Linked DNA regions of Homo sapiens: region 2 is linked to region 1. The links are contacts of gene promoters, found by promoter capture Hi-C in human tissues and cell types (Jung and others, 2019). All regions are on one chromosome and are shown on one strand. The core of a region is centred on a gene start or on the middle of the fragment in contact, and the rest is flanking DNA. Distances in the headings are between cores, read along the strand shown. Region 1 holds the start of TMEM129 (transmembrane protein 129, E3 ubiquitin ligase). Region 2 overlaps MAEA (macrophage erythroblast attacher, E3 ubiquitin ligase).

Region 1 (4,302 bases), core at 1,084-3,583:
AGCTCAGAGGTCACCAAGAAAGCAGGCCCTAGGGCAACCTGGCCAGCCACACACTGTACAGGTCACACTTACCTTCATAGCTTTGGCCAGGTTCTTGGGTGGCACATTTTCTTTCTGTGACACACGAAGAACAGACGATCTTCCGGTAACTTCTGGTGGCGAAAACAGGAAGTCGCAATTTTCTGTATTTTTTTCATTGCTGACATTTTTGTCGTTTAAGACCTGCAGACTCATTCTGGAAAAGCAGAACATGTTTGTGTCAGTGTGAGGGCAACACTACCACATTGTCCAGACACAGACGTGACAGCTGCTGCAAGGGGCACGACCACTTCCCACACAGGTGTGCTCATTGCTCTGGAACTCACACCTCCCACACGTGTCTCTTGGCAGAGAAAGCCTCAGACTGAGTCCCCATCTTGCTTCAGAGACTCACTCTCCAGCCTGGCAGGGGGAGCCATGGGCAGCACTGCTGCTTCCTGGGACCAAGAGCTAAAGGGCCTTCAGGCTGAGATGGTGAGAAAGAAAACCCAAGCCTGCATAATCTCTACTGCTGTATTACTATATCAAGCAGAAGTCAAGAGACGGAAAAGCCCGGGCCAATAAGAAACCCGGATGAGCCAGAGGAAGCCCTGGTCTCCCCACAGGCCTCTGCGTGTGACGTGAGGCAGGACCGGGCAGTAGAGGGCAGAAAAGCAGGACAGCGGCTCTGGTCTGCTCTCTCCCACCGGGCTAGGCAGCGGGACAAGACCAGGCTGAGAGGGTGAAGGCCCAGAGGAGGAGCTGGGAGACGATGCGCAAACAAGGGAAGCCCAGAGCTGAGCAACAGGTGCCAAGGAACTTCCACATCAGAGCCTCCAGTCAGTCCCAGGTTCCAGGGCTGCCCAGGTCCTCACGCCGGTCACCCACACACTTGCCACCCTTTCTGTCTACAGCGTTCCCAGTCTAGGGAATGACGTAGGGAAAAAGGCTGCCAGAGAGAACCGAGTGTCGACCAGGGCAGGAACCCCACAGGCACCTGGTGGTGGAGGGGGACCTGGGGAGGCTTTGATTTGAAGAAGAGCAAAGTTGGGGAGGGTCCTGGAGAAGAGAGAGGGGGCAGCCCCGGCAGGTCGGTGCTGCAGCTTGAGAAGCCCACTGTGGTGCTGTGTGTGGGTGGGGAGGTTAAGAGCAGAAGGGAAGCAGGGAAACCACAGGCTTCTGGAGCCCAAGGAGTAGATGCCAGACCAGACCCGGGCCTGGCCACTGGCACATATGGGACTTACGGACGACGCTTAGGTTTTCGCCCTGAATAACTGGGTACAGGGCAGGGGAAGGGGTGCTGGATCGCTGGGGGACCCGCAAGCCTCGAACTCAGGGAGAAAGTGACTCGGAGGAAGCCTTCTGGCGGCCTGGAGGAGCTCGGGAGAGCAGCAGACCCAGCCTTAGTCAGGAGGGGCCTTTACTGACTATGGAGGCCCGGGAGGGGCTCTGGGCAGAGAAGGGACCGGCCCCAGGCTGGTGCTTTGGTGCTACTCTGGTGCACAAGAGGGATGCGGTGCGGGGGGAAGGTGGAGCGGCGCAGCAGGTGCGGGGAAGCGGTAGGGGCCCAGGTGTCCGCCGCAGGCGGCCTAGATGGAGTTGGCCCCAGGACGGAGGCCGGAAGGGACCAAAGAACAACAGGAGGGTCCGCGTGCTGGGAGCCAACAAAGAGCCAAGGTGGGCGACCGAGAGACAGGAGAGGGTCGAGGAGAGCAAAGCACCTCGGGGCGCCCGCTCCGCCGTCGGTCTTGGCCCAGCTCTAGCCGCCCCTGGCCACCATCCAGGGGGCCCAGCCCGGCGGTCGGTCTAGGGCCGGGTCCCATGACAGGGCGCGGTACAGGTTCTGGCGGCGGCCCCAGGAGGAGCCGTGGGGGACGCTTCCCGGGGAAAGCGGCGGCCGGGGCGGGAGGGCGAGGGCCGAGGGCGGGGCGGGGCGGGACGGCCTCGCGCCCCCAGGACCCCAGCCTCCCCGCGCCGTGTAGCCGCTCTCCTACCTGCCCGCCCGCCCGTTGCCGGGCTCTGAGCCCGCGCCGCCGCCGCCAGGAAGGAGGGGTCCGCGTCTGCTCCACGCCGGGGGCCAAGCCTAGCTGCTACCGCCGTCGCGCTTCTAGCCCTTGATGGCCGCCGGCGCGCCGGAGTTTCAAACGCCGACGGTTGCCTTCGCGCGGCCAATCAGCGCGCGGCCGGGGGCAGGACCGCAGGAGGGCGGGCGTCCAATGGGAAGCTGTGCCTCGCCGGCTCCGCCCTCCCTCCCCCCCCACCCCCCGCTCGGGCGCCGACGGTTCCGTTTCCGGAGTGGAGGGCACGCCAGGGTGTCTGAAGCTGAGACCCCGGGCTCGCAGTCGCCCCATGAATTTCGAGTTCCGCAACTGACGCTACTGGGCGGGGCTTCATGGCCAGGGCCTCGCTCAGGCCTAAGTTTCCCCACCTGTGCTCAATGCACAGGTGCGGTGCCGCCTCCAGGGCCGGCCGAGAAGAGAGGCCGCACCCGCACGGGGACTGCATCTCCCAGAGCGCCCCGCGAGCGGCCGAGCGGCGGGACTCCATGCCCTAGAGTGCCCCGCGGGCGGCCGGGCGGCGGGACTCCATGTCCTAGAGTGCCCCGCGGGCGGCCGGGCGGCGGGACTCCATGTCCTAGAGTGCCCCGCGGGCGGCCGGGCGGCGGGACTCCATGTCCTAGAGTGCCCCGCGGGCGGCCGGGCGGCGGCCGCCGCAACCGACAGGTCCGGGACTGGGCGCTGCGGCCTCGTCCGCGCGCCGGGGCGGGGGCCTAGCTCGACAGCTTCCCGGCGGCTGCGCGATGGACAGCCCCGAGGTGACCTTCACTCTCGCCTATCTGGTGTTCGCCGTGTGCTTCGTGTTCACGCCCAACGAGTTCCACGCGGCGGGGCTCACGGTGCAGAACCTGCTGTCGGGCTGGCTGGGCAGCGAGGACGCCGCCTTCGTGCCCTTCCACTTGCGCCGCACGGCCGCCACGCTGTTGTGCCACTCGCTGCTGCCGCTCGGTGAGGCTGCTCGGGCCGGCCGGCCGCATCCTCTCCTGCGCAGGGCTTGCTGGGAGGTCAGGAGGAGGCCTCCGCCAGCTCCCCGAGGCCCCGAAAGCGCCTGGGCGCAGCTGGGGAGAGGCGCCGGTCCTCATCCAGAGGGACCGCGGCGTGGGCTGAGCGCGCTTAGGGGCGCCGCCGGCACTGACTTGCAGGTGACGGGAACCCAAGTTCAGAACCTTGGGCAAGGGATGCTCCGGCCCACCAAGTCCTGAACCGTCACGTGCCTGGGGGTTGCAAGGCCAAGCAGCCCTTGCTTGTCGTGGTTGGGGGCAGTGGCCAGGAGAAGGCAACTGTTGATTGAGTCCAACGGAAGGGGTCGGAGGGGCTGTGTGGAGGGTGGCACTGCACTAGGCCTTGGAAGGTGGGTGTGGAGAGAACAGGCGGATTTGGAGGCAGTTCCAGTTTGGGGGCGCCACAGGGGCAGAGGCTGGGGAGGGCCTCTGTGCAGTGCAGGTGGGACGCTCAGAGTTGTCCAGGGGGGTGCTGGGCTGGGCCCCAGGTGCTAGCTGGGGCTCTGGAAGGTCCCTCTCTCAGCTGATTGGATGACGGACAGGTGGGAGGTGGGGTGTGCAGTGGCTGGAGGGGGATTTCAAGGGGGTACCTCTGGAGGACACGGGGGCAGACGCAGCCCTGGGAGGACAGATGGCCAGTGGCTGGCCAGGTTTGCCACTCTGGGGATACAAGAGGGGTGACCCTCCACATCCTGGTTTGAGGATGCAGCTGCCTGGGCCCAGAAGAACTGGAGGCAGGTGTCGGGTGGAGGCGCCCAGGCCTGCCTCATGGAGAGGGTGGGCTGGGGGCCCACTTGAGAGATGGATGGGGCTGAGTGGGGCTGGGGCCCTGACCAGGCCACTTTCTAGGGCTACTGGGTGGGTTTCTGTAGCCCTTCCAGCTGCACCCTCCCCAGAGGCCTATGAGGGACCACAAGTGAATTGTGGCAGCCACACCTGGAGCAGACAGCACAGCTGGCCTCACAGTCGGATGTCAAGCTCTTTTTATTTTTAACTTAGTTTGAAAGTTTTCAAGCTTTATTAGGTATTAGTTACCTGTTTTATTTTTATTTTTACTTTTTGAGACGGAGCCTCGCTCTGTCACCCAGGCTGGAGTGCAGTGGCATGATCTCGGCTCACTGCAACTTCGGCCTCCTGAGTAGCTGGGACTACAGGCGCCCGCCACCACGCCCGGCTAATTTTTTGTATTTTTTAGTGGAGATGGGGTTTCACCGTGTTAGCCAGGA
Region 2 (4,518 bases), core at 344-2,843, 380 kb after region 1:
GTCGCCAGAAATCTTGCAGACCAGGCGGGAGTTGGCACAGTGGGCCATGGGCAGGGGCTGCGCCAGCTTGTTCAGGGAGCGGCTGCACACAGGGCAGTCAGGGCTCTTGGAGCTGCCGTCCTCCTTGTAGCACTGTCTGAGCATCGGGTCAAGGAAGGGTTGGGGGCCACTCAGGGCAGCCGGGGTGAGCCCAGCCCCCTGTGGCCACTCTGCCCTGGGCTGCGTGCCCTTCTGGCTATGTGGGCGCCATGCTGACTACACGGGGCTGTCTTTCGAGGCACAGGAAGTGCTGCACTCGACAGCTAAACAGCCCCACTGAGGCCTCGGTGGAGACAAGAAGCCTGCGCCTTCTCACCCCGGCCTCCAGCACCAGGACCACAGGCACAGAGTGGCTCCGTCGCCCGCCGCCCTCTCCCCGGCCACGCAACCTCTCCAGGCAGGACAAGAGCCACCCAGCAGGGACGTTCTGCTGGCACCTAGGAACAGGCAGTGGGCAAGCACGCCAGCCCTCTCGCCCAGAGTTCCACAAAGAGGGGACAAGGGAGGGGGCCTGAGTCTCATTCATACCCCGGCACAGCCAGGTACCAGCAGCAATCGCGAAACACTCACTGCCCTCTGGGCCTGAGGCAGGTCACATGAAAGACATTCATAGGCGGGGACAGAGTCAGTTGCAGGAGGACAGTCAGTCACAGGTGGGGACAGAGTCAGTCACAGGTGGGGACAGAGTCAGTCACAGGAGAGGGCAGAGTCAGTCACAGGCAGGGGTAGAGTCAGTAAGAGGCTGAGTCACAGGCAGGACGGAGTCAGTCACAGGTGAGACAGTCACAGGGCAGGGGCAGAGTCAGTCACAGGCGAGGACAGAGTCACAGGCGGGATGGACTCAGTTGCAGGAAGGGACAGACTCAGTCGCAGGCAGGGGCAGAGTCTGTCACAGGCAGGAAGAAGTCAGTTGCAGGTGGGACAGAGTCAGTCACAGGAAGGAATCAGTCACAAACGGGACAGACTCAGTCACAGGCAGGGCCACAGTGAGTCGCAGGCAGGGACCAAGTCCGTTGCAGGCGGGAGCCGAGTGAGTCACAGGCAGGAACTCAGTGAGTCGCAGGTGGGACAGAGTCACAGGCAGGATGGAGTCAGTCACAGGCAGGGACAGAGTCACAGGCAGACAGAGTCGGTCACAGGTGGGACAGAGTCAGTCACAGGCGGGACAGAGTCAGTCACAGGCAAGGTTCTTGGTAATCACACGGGAAAACTATTCTGAATGGTAATCTGCCGGCTGCCAGAACACATCAAAATCGGGCTTTTAGATCAATGCCCATGGCGGCCTCTGAGATGATGAGAGAGGAAGCGCGCCACTTCCCAGAGTGAAGGCTGCACGACGCATCCGAGGCCCCTCAACACGGCCCCACCCCGACCATCCAGACACCACGCAAGTGCAGCACACGGGAGCTCGGGGCTGTCTGTGGTGGGAGGACAAGAGTGGCAAGGTGCAGGGTCAGCGTGTTAAAATATGACCAAAGATGCCAACCCCAGGCCAAACCGCACTGCGCACGGGAGGTAGGATACGGTGTCTTGATGGCTGAGAGGCCAGCCTGCAGGGTGAGGGTGAACACAGAATTGTTTCCCAGCTGGTGTAGTCGGTAGTTGTCGTACCGGAACTGCTGGATCAGCATCCGCCACCGTGCAGGGTCCAGAAGGTCCTGGAAGACAGAGAGCAGAGGGTCCTGGGGATGCTCCCAGGGAAGCTCCTGGGACAGCTTAAAAACGTGGACCATGGTGAAGCAGGTGCCATCGGCCCACAGCCATCCCCCAGTGACCCACACACTTTGCACTAAGGGTCAGCACAAAGCATAACTCCCTCAAGTGTTGACTGATACACACAGTGGGATGAGTGCTGACTTAACTATGATTTCAACATGCTGCGGGATGAGTGCTGACTTAACTCTGATTTCAACATGCTACAGGGTCAGTGCTGACTTAACTCTCTGATTTCAACACACTGCGAGGCCAGTATGAACTTAACTCTGATTTCAACATGCTGCGGGACAAGTGCTGACTTAACTCTGATTTCAACACACTGTGGGATGAGTGCTGACTTAACTCTGATTTTAACATGCTGTGGGGTGAGTGCTGACTTAACTCCGATTTCAACATGCTGTGGGGTGAGTGCTGACTTAACTCTGATTTCAACACACTGTCGGGGGAGTGCTGACTTCTCTGATTTCAAAATACTGTGGGGCCAGTTCTGACTTAAGTCTCTGATTTCAACACGCTGTGAGGCCAGTGCTGACTTAACGCTCTGATTTCAACACCTGCAGGACAAGGGCTGACTTAACTCTGATTTCAACACTCTGCGGGACGAGTGCTGGAACTCTCTGATTTCAACATGCTGCAAGGCCAGTGCTGATCTAACTCCCTGATTTCAACATGCTGCGGGATGAGTGCTGACTTAACTCTGATTTCAACACACTGCAGGGCAGGTGCTGACTTAACTCTGTGATTTCAACACACTGCAGGGCAGGTGCTGACTTAACTCTGTGATTTCAACACACTGCAGGGCAGGTGCTGACTTAACTCTGATTTCAACACACTGCAGGGCAGGTGCTGACTTAACTCTGTGATTTCAACACACTGCAGGGCAGGTGCTGACTTAACTCTGTGATTTCAACACACTGCAGGGCAGGTGCTGACTTAACTCTGATTTCAACACACTGCAGGGCAGGTGCTGACTTAACTCTGTGATTTCAACACACTGCAGGGCAGGTGCTGACTTAACTCTGTGATTTCAACACACTGCAGGGCAGGTGTTGACTTAACTCTGTGATTTCAACACACTGTGGGGCCAGTGCTGACTTAACTCTGTGGTTTCAACACGCCATGGGGCCAGTGCTGACTTAACTCTGTGATTTCAACACACTGTGGGGGCCAGAGCTGACTTAACTCTGTGGTTTCAACACGCCATGGGGCCAGTGCTGACTTAACTCTGTGATTTCAACACACTGTGGGGCCAGTGCTGACTTAACTCTGTGGTTTCAACACGCCATGGGGCCAGTGCTGACTTAACTCTGTGATTTCAACACACTGTGGGGCCAGTGCTGACTTAACTCTGATTTCAACACACTGTGGGGCCAGTGCTGACTTAACTCTGATTTCAACATGCCACAGGGCTGGTGCTGACTTAACTCTGCTACACTCACTTGTGAATCAACTTGAATGATCTGGAATGTGTGCAACCTGTGCACTGTGACAAAAAATAGACTCACACAGCTGGAAGGACAGCTCAGTGCAGAGTGCACCTCAGAGCATTAGGTGTAAAAACTCTTACTTCAGAGAAATCATGTATGAAATGGAAAACAACCGGTCCATGTTAGGTTAAAGCATCACAGAACAGAAAATTAAACCTGATGAATGTCTGTCCCTAAATAACCTCAGGTTTAGACTTAAGAGAGAGAGCGTGTGTGAGCACAGGAGAGAAAAACCTTCACATCAACCCAGAAAGGCCGCTCAGTCTCTAGCTTGGGGGGAGACGGCCACACCTGGAGGGAGGGGAGGTGGTCATCAGGGGACGTCACCCATCAGTCTCTGTAAGCTTCTCAGTCTCAGTTTAGGGTAAACACCACACTTAACTCCAACATTTTTAAAGGCTGTTTTAAATCTCATTTTTGTCTAAAAATCAAAGTCTACAAGGGAGGAAGCCCACAGTCCAGAAGGTCCTCACTGAGAAGAACAGCTCCTGGCATCCTCACTCCCCAGGACTGGTTGCCTCTGGGCTTCTGGTGGCTTCTGCCATTCTCTGAACAAAATGCTTCCTTCTGTTTCTTGCCTGACCCATGGCAACGGGGCCCATTTTCCTGCCACGAGACACGGTTGTGCCCCCTGAATCTGGCAACAGATGAGCCTTGGGGCTGGCACTGCCTGCCTCCCTCTTTACCACACTGCAGGGCTGCGTCCGGTGAGAGGTGCATGCTCCACCCGGCCTAGGCCCGAAGTCTCAGCCCCCTGTATGGGTCAGCCTTTCCTGCATTTCTAACAAAATCCTCTCCAGAGCAAGCGAGAGAAACAAGGTGCCAACTCACAGTCTGGGAAGCTCAGACCCCACCCCTGAAGATCCTCGTGACCTAATGATGATTTATTATGAGATGCCCCAAACGCCTGAGAACCAGGAGAATTCAGGCTGAGCTTCCAGCAGCTTTCAGAAGGCAGCAGGTCTGGGACTGCCCAGGGCTTTGCAGTCCCTACAGGGTGGCAGGTGGGGGCTGCCGGGAAACACCCCGGCCTCTGACAGAGACTGGTGCCAGGCTCAGAGAACAAACTGTCAACTCCAGGAGGTTTTATCTGCTTCCCCCTTTTCCAGGAACTGAAACTGTTCCCAGTGTGATGAGCACAGGGGTGGGCATGGGGGTGGATGCAGGGGTGAGCACATGGTGGGCATGGGGTGGGCATGGGGGTGAGCACGGTAGGCATGGGATGGGTGCAGGGGTGAGCACACGGGCATGGGGGTGGGTGCAGGGGTGAGCACAT

Evidence for each region. Contacts are between HindIII fragments. The study calls those that stand out against the background at their distance.
Region 2: a fragment that was not itself captured here is called in contact with the fragment with the promoter of TMEM129 in region 1 in 1 of the 25 tissues and cell types used here (dorsolateral prefrontal cortex).

Annotation. Positions count from the first base shown.
Region 1 is chr4:1,719,354-1,723,655 of GRCh38, reverse strand. It overlaps TMEM129 (transmembrane protein 129, E3 ubiquitin ligase), which reads left to right and starts at 2,333. Exons shown (of 4, transcript NM_001127266.2): 1 at 2,333-3,023. The coding sequence starts at 2,819. It overlaps TACC3 (transforming acidic coiled-coil containing protein 3), which reads right to left and starts at 2,135. Exons shown (of 16, transcript NM_006342.3): 1 at 2,013-2,135; 2 at 73-235. The coding sequence starts at 234. RefSeq lists enhancers at 1,305-2,300, 3,383-3,482, 4,123-4,202 and silencers at 1,923-2,732, 2,743-2,792. The HindIII fragment of the contact is 14,879 bases long and covers 1-4,302 here.
Region 2 is chr4:1,334,040-1,338,557 of GRCh38, reverse strand. MAEA (macrophage erythroblast attacher, E3 ubiquitin ligase) reads right to left here. Exons shown (of 9, transcript NM_001017405.3): 7 at 1,564-1,697; 8 at 1-136. Among named protein-coding and RNA genes, the nearest start is that of UVSSA, 11 kb to the left of the region's middle. The HindIII fragment of the contact is 5,951 bases long and covers 1-4,518 here.